Linked DNA regions of Homo sapiens: region 2 is linked to region 1. Evidence: promoter capture Hi-C in human tissues and cell types (Jung and others, 2019). All regions are on one chromosome and are shown on one strand. Each heading gives the region's core, a stretch centred on a gene start or on the middle of the fragment in contact. The rest is flanking DNA. Distances are from core to core; before and after follow the strand shown.

The links. Contacts are between HindIII fragments. The study calls those that stand out against the background at their distance.
Region 2: a fragment that was not itself captured here is called in contact with the fragment with the promoter of NCBP2 in region 1 in 1 of the 25 tissues and cell types used here (mesenchymal stem cells).

Annotation. Positions count from the first base shown.
Region 1 is chr3:196,936,244-196,944,012 of GRCh38, reverse strand. It overlaps NCBP2 (nuclear cap binding protein subunit 2), which reads left to right and starts at 1,485. Exons shown (of 4, transcript NM_007362.5): 1 at 1,485-1,587; 2 at 4,581-4,762; 3 at 6,365-6,503; 4 at 6,931-7,769. The coding sequence starts at 1,510. The coding sequence ends at 7,002. It overlaps NCBP2AS2 (NCBP2 antisense 2 (head to head)), which reads right to left and starts at 1,339. Exons shown (of 1, transcript NM_001355243.2): 1 at 470-1,339. The coding sequence starts at 1,296. The coding sequence ends at 997. NCBP2-AS1 (NCBP2 antisense RNA 1) reads right to left here and starts at 4,136. Exons shown (of 3, transcript NR_046630.1): 1 at 3,886-4,136; 2 at 2,871-3,039; 3 at 1,479-1,620. RefSeq lists enhancers at 882-1,041, 806-1,479, 1,262-1,561, 1,612-1,751, 1,782-2,021 and 2 more. The HindIII fragment of the contact is 10,051 bases long and covers 1-7,457 here.
Region 2 is chr3:196,650,230-196,657,998 of GRCh38, reverse strand. It overlaps NRROS (negative regulator of reactive oxygen species), which reads right to left. Exons shown (of 3, transcript NM_198565.3): 2 at 3,352-3,472. The coding sequence starts at 3,459. Among named protein-coding and RNA genes, the nearest start is that of NRROS, 14 kb to the right of the region's middle. RefSeq lists an enhancer at 6,482-7,247. The HindIII fragment of the contact is 5,100 bases long and covers 2,260-7,359 here.

The DNA.
Region 1 (7,769 bases), core at 236-2,735:
AGAAAGGTTCTCGCTATGCTACCCAGGCTGGTCTCATCTCAGGCTCATGCGATCCTCCTGCCTCTGCAGTGGCTGGGATAAGACACAACTGCCACCAGGCCCTGCCCCTAGGCAGTAGTCTTAATGCCTGATGGTGGGGGGTTGGGGAAGGAAGGGGTTGAGTATCAGGGTAAATGCTGCAGAGCTGTGTTAAGGACTTAGGCCCTGGAGTCAAATGCCTCTGCTCACATCCCACTCTGCAAGACTTTGGGCAACTTAAGCAGCAGCCTCTGTTTCCATCGCAGTGGCTCTTGCCTATAATCCCAGCACTTTGGGAGGCTGAGGCGGGAGGATCACTTGCGCCCAAGAGTTCGAGACCACCCCATCTCTACAAAAAAATCCAAAAAGTAATCTGCTTCCTCATGTGAATGTCGTTGTAAGGAGTGAGATAACACATAGAGTGCAATGAGCAAGTCCCAGCACAGAAGACTCATTTCATAAAATACGTGTTTATTATTACCATAGGCCTACAGTCCCCGGTATTCTTAACACATCTTGCCTGAGAAGTATCACACTCATGCCTATCAACCAGCTCACACATTTAATCAAAGGAATTTGGCAGCTGTAGGGTTGTCTTTTCATCCATATCGTCCCTGGAATTAACTGTCCTGCTATACCAGTCAGATTGAGCAGCATCTGTCAAGAGTTTCAGTCCCACTTGCAGAGGAAAGGCTCTCTGGCTTCGGTCCGTGGCTCTCCGTAGGTGCCGTGTCTGGACCCAGCCTACCTTCATCTCTGTTAGGCTTAGGGCTGTCTCCACACTGTGTCTTGTCCAATCACAAGACTTCAACGGAGCGGGCGGTCTGGCCTAGGCTCTTATGCGTGGGATGTCTGCAGGCCAACAATCCCAGTCGGGATTCGAAGCCGCGCGCAGTGCCCGGAATGACCCCTCCACATTGATGCCACTGTAGAGCCCGGAAGGAAAAGCAAGCGGCCTCGGCCCCGCACAGCCCAGGATTAAATGTTTGCGCCAGGGCCCCTCTGGCTACCTGGTGGTGGCCCCGAGCGGCCTCGGAGGCCGCGGCGTAGCTCCTGGGTGAAGGCGTCTCTAAATCGCTCAGCGCGGCGGCACAGGGAGCCCACGGGCCCAGCCGCGAGGTCCTGCAGGCGGCGGGCCGCGTCCTGGCCCCGCAGCTGGGCCTGCAGCAGTGCGAAGGCCGTGAGCTGCGCCGCACGTCGGATAGGCCGCGACTCTGACAGACGTTCCACCAGCTGCGGGCTGTGCAGCAGGGCGGCCAGCAGCCGCCGCAGCACCATCTTCTCCAAGCGCCCGGAACCCGACCTCGCCGCCCTCGTCTTCCGCCCCGCGGCGCCCGACCCGGACGTCTATGCCCCCGCGCAGCTTGATGACGACACGCCGCCCTCGGATTGGGTCCAATGAGATGCTCGCCTCCGCGCGTTTCCGCTTCCGCCATCGCGGACGCAGCCTCGTGCCGGGAGTCGCCGCATTGTGGTCCGCTTCTCTGCACTATGTCGGGTGGCCTCCTGAAGGCGCTGCGCAGCGACTCCTACGTGGAGCTGAGCCAGTACCGGGACCAGCACTTCCGGGTGAGGGAGGCCGGGCCGCGAGACGGGAAGGCCCTGGGCAAGAACGCTGAGAAACGGTTTGCTCTTGTCTCATTGTGTCGCCTCCCATTCAGCTGAAATCCGCAAACGCCAAGTGGGGCCCCGGTGCCTGCTGGCGAGGCAGGGAATGGGTGCTGGAAGGGCGCTTGGATATCACTGAAGCCACTTGCTCTGGAAGACGGGGAACTGGAGGCTCGCTTATCCCATTCGCTCGCAGCCGCTCCCTGTACCCCAGCCAGTGCCGAGAGGTTTGAGCGGTGGTGGTGGTGGCGGCTCCCGTTTCCACGGTTGTGCCTCCGCAGACGACTACGTAGCAAGGGGGAGGGGTGCCCTTCTCTCTCCCAGAGTAGGCAGAGGCGCCTTCCTGATGCAGATGCGGGGCTTTTTGCTTTGTTTTTTAAATCGGCGAAGCAGTGCCCTTCGGCGATTCGGGCCCCTTCTCTGGGAGGATGGTGTTACGGAAGCTGTACGCGGTGCGTGGGAGACACAAGTGGAGTCCTCACTCCGCCCTCGGGGAAGCTTCGGAGTGGGGAGGTGGACCCGCCAAGCTCGGCACTTTGAGGGTGTTCGGATGTAAAGATCGGAGAATTGCTGGATTTCAGAAGAGGGAAATTTTTAGTCCGGACTATATCACAGTATATTTTGTGGAAAAAGGGGAGGCAGCAGATATTCAAAGTAGACTTTTCAGTATCAGCGGAGGTAGGGATGGAATACGGTTGGGGGTTGGCGGGGCGGGACTCATTAACCCAATTATTTAGTAAACGTTTATCGAGTGCTGTCGCCAAATCCTTGTGCTAAACCCTAGAGGGAGAGGGAAGACAGTTTCTGCGCTCTGCGAGCTCATAATCCCCTGTAGTGAGGATTCAGAAAAGGGAAAAATCCCCTTGTGACTGGGAAAGGAAGGGGCGCATATAGCAGAGGGTAAGTGTGGAGAATGTGTGAAATGTGTTACTAGAGTAGGGAAAGGGAAATTTTGTTTGACGCTAAATTAGGGAAGCTCTTAGATTTATTTAGTCAAGGCTGGGAACGGTGGCTCACGCCTGTAATCCCAGCACTTTGGGAGGCTGAGGCGGGTGGATCACGAGGTTAGGAGTTCAAGACTAGCCTGGCCAAGATGGTGAAACCCCGTCTTACTAAAAATACAAAAATTAGGCGGGCGTGGTGGCAGGCGCTTGTAATCCCAGCTATTCGGGAGGCTGAGGCAGGAGAATCGCTTGAACCGGGGAGGTGGAGGTTGCTGTGAGATCGCGCCACTGCACTCCAGCCTGGGCAACAGAGCGATATTCCTTCTCAAAAAAAAAAAATTTATTCAGTTAATGTATTTTATTTTTTGAGACAGAGTCTCGCTTTATTGCCTAGGCTGAAGTGCAGTGGCGCAATCACGGCTCACGCAGCCTCAACCTCCTGAGCCTAAGTGATCCTACCCACCTCAGCCTCCTGAGAAGCTGGGACCACAGGCTCGCGCCACCACATCCAGCTAATTTTTTGTAGAGACAGGGTCTCCCTGTGTTGCTCAGGCCAGTCTCGAACTCTGGGACTCAAGCGATCCACCTGCCTGGGGCTTCCCAAAGTGCTGGGATGCCTAAGTGCCAGGCATGATTTGCACTTCTACCACTTTTAGTTACTACTTTAGACAGTTCCACATCCTGACCATTTTGAACTTAAAGCATCCTGTGAGATGAAAACTGGAACCTTCTGACTTTGTCTATTATTCATCTCCTCAGTCTAAACCTGTAGCTTTTTTTAGATGCTAATGCCATACTGTCATGTGGAATTTCTAGCATTCTGTGAATGGAATCCATATTAATATACTTTAAGCACTTACACCACAGTTATCTTAAACTGTAGGCTATTTATTTGGATCTTACTTACATGTGTGAGAAAAGTAGAAAAAGAAGATGCCTCCTTTCCATGTTCACAAATCAGTAACAGCAGTAAAATGAAAGGAATTTACTTTCTCTAATGTCTCACTCCAAAGTTCCGAAAACCTCTTTTTAACATACAATGACTATTGTCCTGTGGACTTTTTTTTTTTGAGATAGAGTTTCACTCTTGTTGTCCAGGCTCAAGTGCAGTGGTGCAATCTCAGCTCCCTGCAACCTCCACCTCCCAGGTTCAAGCGATTCTCCTGCTTCAGCCTCCCGAGTAGCTGGGATTACAGGCGCCCGCTGCTACCATGCCCAGCTAATTTTTGTATTTTTAGTAGAGACAGGGTTTCATTCACTATGTTAGCCAGGCTGGTCTCAAACTCTTGACCTCAGGCGATCCACTCGCCTCAGCCTCCCAAAGTGCTGGGATTACAGGCATGAGCCACCGCGCCTGACCCCGATGAGCCATTTTGGACCCAGGGCTTTGTCTGTCAGGTGTGTTGGATGAAGCCCAGTTATATGCTTAAGTCTCTGGCTTCATCCTGTCATCCCAATTTGGAAGCCCATTAAGAAAGTGAGCTCTGTTTTGTTTTTAGTGATCACTACATTTTCCCCTAAACTCAGAGAAAGATCTATGAGCACGTAAAGCATCAAGGTTGTGGCTTTCAACAGTCTCTAGGGGGTTATTAAAGAGGAACTCTCTCTCTCTCTGAAAACCCACTTATTTTTCACTACGAAGGATAAAAGGGCCCTTTGTCATATATTGGGTCAAGGTCCAGAGTCTACACTTGGGTTTAAAGGATGCACTGCTGAGGATATGGTGTGTGCAGGGAAAAGGGAAGCCGCTTGCGTGGCAGTCGGGCGTAGAAGTGACTTTGTTGTATGTGGTATAACTTTTGAGCCCTGTCTCTACTAAGAGTCTGGACTTCGCATAAGTGCTTCACAGAAGGTCGACATCCCCCTTTTTGGGCAAGGGATTTCTGGTAGGCTGGGATGAGAGAAGTTGATTTCCAAACCAGAATTAATGAATGTCTCTACCGTACTTAGAAATACTATTTAAGCAAGGCTCTGAAGTTGCTTAACTTTTGTCTCTATTTGAAATTCTAGGGTGACAATGAAGAACAAGAAAAATTACTGAAGAAAAGCTGTACGTTATATGTTGGAAATCTTTCTTTTTACACAACTGAAGAACAAATCTATGAACTCTTCAGCAAAAGTGGTGACATAAAGAAAATCATTATGGGTCTGGATAAAATGAAGAAAACAGCATGTGGATTCTGTTTTGTGGAGTATCCTTCCCATGGATCTAATGTAGCTGCTGAACCAGGGTAGAGCTGAGAGTGGTAGCTCATAAGCGTCCCTGCACTCGTCCCTACGTTTTCCTTCATCTCCCTCCTACTTTCCACCCAGTGTGTCTCTGCCCTTATACTGTAAAGCTGATACTATTTATATTCTCTTCTGAAATCCATGCTTTATGGTTCTTTAACAAAAAGTTTTTCAAGAATGTTTGCCCTTCACGTAAAAAAAAAAAAATTCCAAAGAATGTAGTGAAAATATAAAAATCTCGTACTGTTCTAAACCCCTAATGCCCTTTGCCAGAGGCAGTCAGTTACCAGTTTCTTGGGCGTCTTTCAAGAAGTAACCCTGTGGGTGTGCGGTAGTGTATTTCATGTGCTGTTTTTAAAATCATTTTTTTATTTTTTATTGTTCCATTTCAGCATATGTAGGTCTTTTTTTAAAATAGCTGTACAGCTGGGCATGGTGGCTGGTGTTTGTAGTGCCAGCTGCTCAGGAAGCTGAGGCAGGAGGATCAGTTGAGCCCAAGATTTCAAGGCTGCACTGAGTTGTGACTGTGTTCCAGCGGGGGTGACGGGTTAAGACCCCATCTTTAAAGAAAAAAACTTTTAAGTAAATAGCTGTATAGTATTTCATTATATAGATGTATATAACCTGACTGTATAGGTACAAACCAAAACTATTTACTTTGATCATTTAATTCCCTTACTCAGACTCTTTTAAGTATTGGACCTCTTGGATTTATCCTATGTTCTTTTTACTGTATGTTTTGGTCATTCAATTTAATATTCTGAGAAATTTTGCAGGCCCAATTTAATATATCTTTTGAATTTTTTCCTGTGCCCTGAATTATGTTTGTTTCGGTTGAAATTTTTCCTTAAGTGTCTGGTGATCCCTGGATTTCTGCTCATAATTAAGGAAAAGAATGCTGACTCACTGGACCCAGGCAGGGCTTCTCTCCCAGATTGCAGGCTTGCCTCGGGGATACACAGGTTTCCCAAATGCTAGAATGAAAAGAGATTTTATTTTGGCTTGCTAACATCAAAGATACTAGTTTCTCCAGATGGTTTATTCAGAACACTGTTGTCTTATTTTTATTTGTCTGAGATTAAATGTCTTCCCCTTTAATTAAAGGGAGGTCTCTGATGAAGTAGGTTTGGGAACTGCTACCTTGGTGACAGCTTGAGTCTTTCCTTTAGTGAAGTGCAGCACAATTCCACGTGCACGGTGACCTTCTCTTGATTAGGGTGCCTTGGAATGTACAGAACCTAACTTGAATATACAGCACTGGTTTCTTGGATAAGAAGTGTACAGTGATCTAAACTTGCAAACCAAAATACAGAGATGATGGGACCAAAAATTATCAACAGGAATGTCCAAGAAATATGATCAGTGTAGCCATGGATACGTGTCATATTTGACTCTATGTGCTTCCAAACCAATCGCAAACAGGCCTGGGCAAGCTGAATTACTGTCTTTGAACTCCATCTGGTTGGATTAGCTCTTGTACTTTTTAACAACTCAGCTTCATTTACATGTTGTTCCCCTATTTCCAGAAATGTTTGGAAAAATGCTAGTGTTCCTTAATACTTAAGATATTACTCACGCGCAGATGCGGAAAACGCCATGCGGTACATAAATGGGACGCGTCTGGATGACCGAATCATTCGCACAGACTGGGACGCAGGCTTTAAGGAGGGCAGGCAATACGGCCGTGGGCGATCTGGGGGCCAGGTATGCAAGAAGGGTCTCTGGGCTCAGCCATTGCCTGGGATTCCAGTCACAATGACAGGTGTTTTGGCAATTTGTATTTACTCTTTTGTAAATAACTTTGTGTCTATAACCTTGGCTTGAAGTGGATCTGAAAACCACCCAACGGTTTGGGTGAATTTTTTTTTTAAACCGTGAAATGGTATGTTCTGTACGTTTCTAACAAGCAACCATTCTTGAACTTCTGCTAGGGCTAGGTATCTTCCACCTGCAGGAACATCTAAAATGAAAGCAAAACGCACTGAAGTGAGCTGAAGTGCATATGTCCTGCTTGAAATGTTCACATTGTGGCATCTGAACAGGTTTCACTGTTTGTCTAACATGTTTGTGGGAGGCATATTTGTTACACCATTCTTTTCCATACTGTAACTCTGGATTCTTTCCATTAAAGGTTCGGGATGAGTATCGGCAGGACTACGATGCTGGGAGAGGAGGCTATGGAAAACTGGCACAGAACCAGTGAGTGGTGAGAGCTCTGTCAGTGACAAACACTCCTTTGGCCTGTTGAATTTGCTGAAGAACATCACCTAAAGTCTGCACACGAGCCCATTTTTACCAAGATTTGATCAGTGTCTTTACTGAGCTGGAAGCCTCTGAAAGTTATTAAAGGACAGAATCCAAAAGAATGCCTTTAATTCTTGTCTGAGAATCTTGGCCATGTGTCAGATTATCAGAACAATTTTGTTACCAGGTCAGAAATTGTGTTCTTTGACAACAGATTGGATCTGTAATGTTGATTAGTCTTTAGCCATAACCACTACACTTTTAGAAAGACAGAAAAATGTAAGAATTTGTTTTTACCATAATGAGTCTTAAGTAGGTTCATGATCTACATTGGGGCCTGGGATTATTTTTTTAATTTTAAGTTTGCATGAGATAGCCTAATAAATGGAGGTGGGGCCAGGCATGGTGGCTCACACGTGTAATCCCAACACTTTGGGAGGCTGAGGAGGAAGGATAGCTTGAGGCCAGGAGTTTGAGACTAGACTGGGCAACATAGCAAGACCCCGTCTCTACAAAGCACAACGAAAAACAACAAATGGAGTTGTGCTATGTTGTATTGCTTTGCACAAAATTAGGAACAGGTGTTTGACAATTGAATTTGTTTTCTGTGAATTCTAACCTCTAAAGGCATGCTTAGAGGTCAAGGACCTTCCTGTGTAGTTGGTGCAAAAGCAATCTCCACAGGACAGCACTGCTTCCATGCTTCATACATCAGGAAATGAGGCC
Region 2 (7,769 bases), core at 3,560-6,059, 290 kb after region 1:
CGAAATTATACTCGTCATTTTCGCATAGCGTTTTTTTTCAGGATCAAGTGTGACTGTTGAGGTGAAACACATTTACTGTGCTTAATAAATGTGAGCTATAATTATTAGGATGATCTAATTAATCATCTCCTATTGTTGAGCATTTGGGTTTCTCTAATTTCCAGACGAACGTTAGAAAGGATTTGCCAAGTTCTTTCCACATCCCCCTTCCCTCTTTGGTATTTTGATTGGGATTGCATTATAATTACAAAGTACTCTGGAAGAGAATTTTTATCTTTTTTTTTTTTTTTTGAGACAGAGTCTCACTCTTGTCGTCCAGGCTGGAGTGCAATGGCGCCATCTCTGCTTGCTGCAACCTCTGCCTGCCGGGTTCAAGCGATTCTGCTGCCTTAGCCTCCCACGTAGCTGGGATTACAGACTCACACCACCACACCGGGCTAATTTTGTATTTTTAGTAGAGGCAGAGTTTTGCCATGTTGGCCACCCTGACCTCGGGTGATCCACCTGCCTTGGCCTCCCCAAGTGCTGGGATTACAGGTGTGAGCCACCGCGCCCGGCCAGGTGTGTGTCTTTATGTGAGTGGGTGTTGCGCTCCTCCCTGCGTGTGGACTCACTGGAGAATGTTGTGGTCAGGGGCTTTCTTCACGCTATGGGGTGCTGTTCCACCACAGCTGCTGCAGTCGTGGGTCACACCTCTGCAATTCCCTGTGGCCCCGCTGAAGTGATGTAGAAGGACCATATGGCCATCCCAGAAAAGCTTACCATGTCCACTTTCTTTTTCTTTTTTTTTTTTTTGATACGGAGTCTTGCTCTGTCGCCCAGGCTGGAGTGCAGTGGCGCGATCTCAGCTCACTGCAACCTCGGCCTCCCTGGTTCAAGCGATTCGCCTGCCTCAGCCTCCTGAGTAGCTGAGATCACAGGTGCCCGTCACCATGCCTGGCTAATTTTTGTATTTTTAGTAGAGACGGGCTTTCACCATGTTGGTCAGGCTGGTCTCAAACTCCTGACCTCAGGTGATCTGCCTGCTTCGGCCTCCCAAAGTGCTGAGATTACAGGCGGGAGCCACCGCACCTGGCCAACGTCCACTTTCTAATAAGGTCAAATGGATAATGTGATGAGGGCCAGTGGAGGGCACCCAGACTCTCCAATTCTCAGTCCTCAACTCGGAAGAGCCACAGGAAACCCACTCTTTGGGCTTCCTGGCAGCCAATTCTCTACTCCTGCCCACTGGGCCAGAAAGTGTCAAGCAGAGGGCCTTGCCTGAACTCTGAAAGGCTGTTCATTTATCTCTCCTCTTCCTGTGCCTGGTAACCCCTGAATAACTACTGTGTAGTTAATCCTTTATTGCCTCTGTAAGAGAATGCTGGAGGTCAAACATAGCAGAGATTAATAATAATATGAGTGATAACGGATAAAACGCGTAGCACTGACTACCTACCAGGCACTGTCCTGAGTGCTTTACATGTATTAACCCATTTAATCATCAGTCAACACAGCATGATGTTATTGGTAGATATTATTATTACGTATATATTCTACAGATGGAGAAACTATGACCTAGAGTGACCCCAATGTCACCAGCTAAGGGTGGGGCTGGGTTTAAACCAGGCCAGTCTAGCTTGTAACCTCTATGTCATATTGGAATAGACTCTAGCACAGTGGTTATAGGTTCCTACTAAAAGAGGTTAAAAACCATGACAGCTATGCTTTAAGAATACATACTTGAATGTAAGTGTTAGCCCTGACATCCAATTTGTCTTCCCAACGCCTAGTATATAATATGGCTCAAGAAATGTTTATTAAATATGTGTTTCATTTTTTTTTTCTTTTTTGAGATGGAGTATCACTCTGTCACCCAGGCTGGAGTGCAGTGGCACGATGTCAGCTCACTGCAACCTCTGCCTCCCAGGTTCAAGCAATCTTCCTCAGCCTCCCGAGTAGCTGGGACTACAAGCATGTGCCACCATGCCTGGGTAATTTTTGTATTTTTAGTAGAGACGGGTTTTTACTATGTTGGCCAGGCTGGTCTCGACCTCTTGACCTTGTGATCTGCCCGCCTCGGCCTCCCAAAGTGCTGGGATGACAGGCGTGAGCCATGCACCTGGCCTAAATATGTGTTTCTTGAGCAGACTTTTGATATCATTGTTATATAGATGAAGGGGAAAATTACTGGAAATTTCTCAGTTTGGACCCAAGTCTATTTTCACATCTAGGCTGAAAGCCCTAGAGGAGGCTTGGGTATCCACGCTCCGGGTCTTCTTAGCCTGAGCGTGGTCCGGGCTGCCGCTCTGCAGAGTGGCATGGCAGCAAGTCCTCCCCGCAGCTGTGTAAGCCTTAGCGGTCAACTCGTCCACAAACTCCGAGGCAGGCTTCTCCAGCTCTCAAGCACCTCACCCGGAGATTCTCATACCATCGGTGCAGCTCAGTCATCCAGTTTTTTGTTTTGTTTTGTTTTTTTCTTTTTTTGAGAGAGTCTCACTCTGTCGCCCAGGATGGAGTGCAGGGGTGTGATCTCGGCTCACTGCAACCTCCGTCTCCCGGGTTCAAGCGATTCTCCTCCTTCAGCTTCCCAAGTAGCTGGAATTACAGGCATGCACCACCACGCCCAGCTAATTTTTGTATTTTTAGTAGAGACGGGGTTTCACCATGTTGGCCAGGCTAGTCTCGAACTCCTGACCTCAGGTGATCCGCCGGACTTGGCCTCCCTAAGTACTGGGATGACAGGCGTGAGCCACCGCGCCTGGCTTTTTTTTTTTTTTTTTTAAAGACAAGGTCTGGCCCCATCACCTAGGTTGGAGTGCAGGGGCATGATCTCAGCTCACTGCAACCTCCACTTCCTGGGCTCAAGCCACCCTCACATCTCAGCCTCCCAAGTAGCTGGGACTATAGGTGTGTGCCACCGCACCTGACTGATTCTTGTATTTTGTAGAGATGTGGTTTCATCATGTTGCCCAGGCTAGTCTCCAACTCCTGGGCTCAAGTGATCTGCCTGCCTCGGCCTCCTAAAGTGCTGGGATTACAGGCCTGAGCCACTGCACCCGGCCTGAATCATCCAGATTTTTAACAAGTTGTTCTTGTTCCGGGAGGATGCCCTAGGCTGGTCTCGGATGCCTCCTATCCTCAGCAGGCGTGAGAACGGCGGGGCAGGGACTGCCTGGCTCTTCCCAGGAAGCATCTTAAAATCCTGTGGTTAAAGGGCAGCTGCACATGCCCCTGTGCTAGGCAGGCACAGAGTGATGCAGGCTCCTTCATTCTCTGCCCTTCCTGATGGACAATCTGTCAGCTTTCCAAATGGACCAAGCCTTGTCAGGACAGGAGCAGCCGACAGATCAGGGTTCAAGGGAAACTCACCAACTTGCAGACTCCTTGGGAGGCTGCTGTGGCTGTTCCGCTTCTGTTCCTCCAGCCCACGGTCAGGAAGTGAAAACCCAGGCAGAGCCAAAGAGGCAGCAACTCCATCTCAAGGGCAGCCCTGTGGACAGAGAGCAGGGAAGAGGTAAGTCAGAGAAGGACATCCCAGAGGGCTGTTTGTATTATCGGCAGAAGGAGCCAGTTCCAATTCTATGTGGTCTTGGAGCTCTGTGGAGCTCCATAGAGGTGCAGCCCACAGGATACTCAGATACCTCCATTTAGCCAAGACTTCCGGCCTTTCACTGAAACTGTTGACAAGAACTCAATTTCATTTTGCCTCTACCACTTGATGGACGGGTGGCTGAACACTAAACTTCAGCGAGTCCAGCACAGAAGGGAGAAGCAAAAAGCTTGAGTAACCAGGCCTCCAGTCACCTGGAGTTTCCCATATTTTGTAATTCTGCTGAAGTTTTCCTGCCTCCAGCTCCAATCGGTCTGATGCATCCCCTGAGCTCAGTAAGTACTTGCTGAGTGAATGAATGAACAACTGGAGAGTGGACGGAGACGGAAACACGGATGGGGGCCTCTGTCCCAGAGTTACTCCTCAGCTGCTGATGTGGGGCTGTTACAAAAGCGTTGATCTCTTTGGTTCACTCATTTGACTATGACCCTTTGAAAAAAGAGGTTTGATATTTTGCTTGGACGGGGGAAACACGGAGGGAAAATGAAGAAGCAATCTTTGGGTAGAATAAAGGTGGTTAACGAAACGTGGTTGCCAGCCCGCTTGCCTGGCCAGTGCACAGAGAACAGCAATAATGAGAAGGCTTGAAGGTATACACGCACCAGCAGAGATTCAGAACTAAGGGGAGCCATAAGGGAAATGCAATATACTCATCACATTTGCCAGGTGAACAAAGGCCCAGAGATACTACTCGAGGTTGTGGATGAACTTAGTGGCAGGGCTAAGAGCAGCCCCGCCTCGCTCCCCGAGCTCCGATGAGTGAGCAGGGCAGTTTCTCCCAGCAGCGAGGCTGCACTCACTGCTGCCCTGCTGGGGACCTGACGCCCAGTGCATGCCCCCAGCTCTGCATTCTGCAGACCCAGAGGCAAGAGCTGGCCCCAGCATTCCATCTGCCCATTCCTTGACACCTACCGGAGGCCCAGTGTCTGCCCTCCCATCTTCTCCTGGGCCAGCGGCACCAGCTCACCCCACCTGCTCGCTCCAGCCACTCAGGGGCCTCCTCTTTCCTTTCTTCAAATGCATTTAGGGATCTTGAAAGCTCATTTTACCTTCTTGATCAGATTTGAATGCTCACCAGTGCAAACAGACTAATTGAAGAGCTCAATGAAACCGGGTAAGCCAGCTTTCACTTCAGGCCAGGCCAACTCCCCTTACTACAGAGAGAACCTCCAATGCAGAATTTACCAGAACTTGCCAGACACTGGGAATCCCCTTCCAGACCCATTTCTGCCTCTGCACCCACACAGGAGTCATTGCCTTGTGGCCGGCACAGGGAAGAGAGGGCAGAAGCAGAGGTGTACGGGTTCCTGACCTCAGGATCCCCCCAGCACCCTTCCCCGCCCCTGAAACCTGGGATCACCACCACTGCCCGCCATGAAATAAGGCTGCATAGTTGCAGATTTAGTAAATTACAAGGCATCATTTCAATGCTAGATACATCCTTATACTAACAAATTGTTTATCTGACATTCAAACTTCACTGGGCATCCTGAATTTTACTGAGGGGAGATGGGGAGGTAAGAACCCTCCCTTCCTCCCTGGCCACCTCTTGTCAGGTGTGGGGTGGTACCTGCTGCTGTGACTCCAGTCTCTCTGGAAGAGCCAGCCCTGCGTATCGAAGAACTGAATCTAGACGTGTAAGGGGCAAGAGTGCAGGTCCCTCAGCGAAAAGGCAACCTTCAGACTGGAAGGCAAGCCAGGCCTTGTGTCACACTCAGGAGGGGCATTTTAATTTATGGGTCATCAAGAATTTTGCAAGTTTAAAACATATCCTCTCCTTCCTCCTAAACTCAGCCAACCAGCCCAGAAAAAAACTCTTGTTGTGGCCCTGGCAGGAAGCAGCAGGATATCATGGGAAGATCATGGAATTTGGAACCAAGCAGACCAGAGTTTGAATTCTGCCTCTGTTATTTGTTATTTGTCCTTTAGGAATTCAGACAAAGTCTCCAAGACTCAGAGAATCCGTCTACAAAATGGGAGTAATAATAACTATTCCAGAGTTGCATGAGAATAACCAGTCTCATGAATGTGAAAGGGCTTCATGGCTGTAAAGGTAGCAAGTAACACAATTATTAATTATTACTTGTGAGTTCCAAACACCAGTGAGTTGACTGAGTGCTGGTTATTCCTGTGTAATCTCCAAGGTAGTTCAACAGCTACACAAAGTCTAAAATAAAGGCCTGAGTAATGTGGCTGGAAGGATGAATTATACCAACTAGATATGTAAAACATATGCAGGAAGGTTCAATTAAAAACTCTGCATTCATAAATTGCAGAGCAAGGCTAGCCCTGAGCACAGATGACTATGCTGGCTGACAGCGGTTTGTCCCCAGAGCTGCGCCTTCCCCTTCCCTGCCCTCCTCAGTGTGGCAGGGCTCTGACTTCTGAAGGTTCTGAATCTCAAACTCTGCTGTCACCTGGCCTCAAACTGCTGTCACCTGTCACAAACTCTGCTGGTTTAGTCAATGGAAGACACTCCTCCTGGGAGGTCAGACAGTAGAGGGCAGAAAGAATCCAGCATACTTCTCTCCCTTCCTCTCTGCCTTGGACAGAGACATCCTAGAGTTTCTTCCGCTGACCCCTAGGCTCTGGTGACACCACCTCCTCCTCTTTGTTTTTGTTCGTTTTGTTTTGTTTTTTGAGACGGAGTTTTGCTCTTGTTGCCCAGGTTGGAGTACAATGTTGTGATCTCGCCTCACTGCAAACTCCACCTCCCGGGTTCAACAATTCTCCTGCCTCAGCCTCCCAAGTAGCTGGGATTACAGGTGCACGCCACCACGCCTGGCTAATTTTTGTATTTTTAGTAGAGATGAGGTTCCACCATGTTGGCCAGGCTGGTCTCAATCTCATGACCTCAGGTGATCTGCCCGCCTTGACCTCCCAAAGTGATGGGATTACAGGCGTGAGTCATGGTGCCTGGCCCACCTTCTCCTCTTGTCCTCACCCTACCTAGGTGAGGATAAGAAGCTTCCTGAAGCTGCTCGTCGCTGTGTTGACTGTTTATTTGCTTTCTCAGCCTTTTCCACCATGTGTTGCCACTTTCTTGCATTAAATATCCTCTGTCTTAAATAATCTGGGCAGTTTCCGTTTCCTGGTTGGACCCTGACTAATACAATCATGTGAGAATGGCCAAGACCCAGTGCTAAATTAAAAGTATGTAATGACTGTAAAGAAATAAAAGGCTTTCAAAATAGTGACCATTGAGGTTGAGAAACACTCTTCGTAGAGTGTGTAGCTGCAGAGAGCTTCCTCAGAGCCATGGCACTGCAAAGAGTCCAAGATAAACAATCCTCTTGCCATATCTCTCTGCAAAATCCCGTGACTCATCCCCTGCATGCACAGGACTGCTTCCTCTCCTCCCACATCCTCAGGGCTGAGGACCACGCCACAGCATCTGCAGCTGTAAGAGGGCATCTAAGCCAGAGTGTGCCCAGCATGCAGGAACAGGTGGAAAGCCCAGCCGCTTCCCGAGGGGCTGCCAGCTGGTGAGTGTTCCTGGGACCCTGAGCTGCCTGTTGCTCCTGTCTGGACAAGGTTTGGCCCATTTGGAACACTGCTGCATTCTAACTAGTTATCATGGAATGCTGTGAGTCTACTCCATAGCCAACCTTGTCTATGAAGATGTGGTGTTGCTTTTTAGGCAGAGAAGACAACGTGGTTTTCTGCCTCCAGACCTGGTCATAGTAAGAAAGTGGTAAAAAGATTCATTCATAAAAACAACATGAATGGAGGTTGTATTCTGCAACAAGAGAATGCTGACAGTGAGGAAGAAGAACGTACAGCCGCTGCAAAGAGTCTCCTTTGTTTTAGAAATTATGTTTGTTGCGAACAGGTGCGGTGGCTTACGCCTGTAATCCCAGCACTTTGGGAGGCCAAGGAGTGGGGGGTCACTGGGTCTCAGGAGTTCGAGACCAGCCTGAGCAAGGTGGCAAAACCCTGCCTCTCTAAAAAAAATACAAAAATGGCCGGGCGCAGTGGCTCACTCCTGTAATCCCAGCACTTTGGGAGGCCGAGGCAGGTGGATCACCTGAGGTCAGGAGTTTGAGACCAGCCTGGCCAACCTGGTGAAACCCTGTCTCTACTAAAAATACAAAAATTAGCTGGGCGTGGTGGCGGATGCCTGTAATCCCAGCTACTCGGGAGGCTGAGGCAGGACAATCGAACCTGGGAGGTGGAG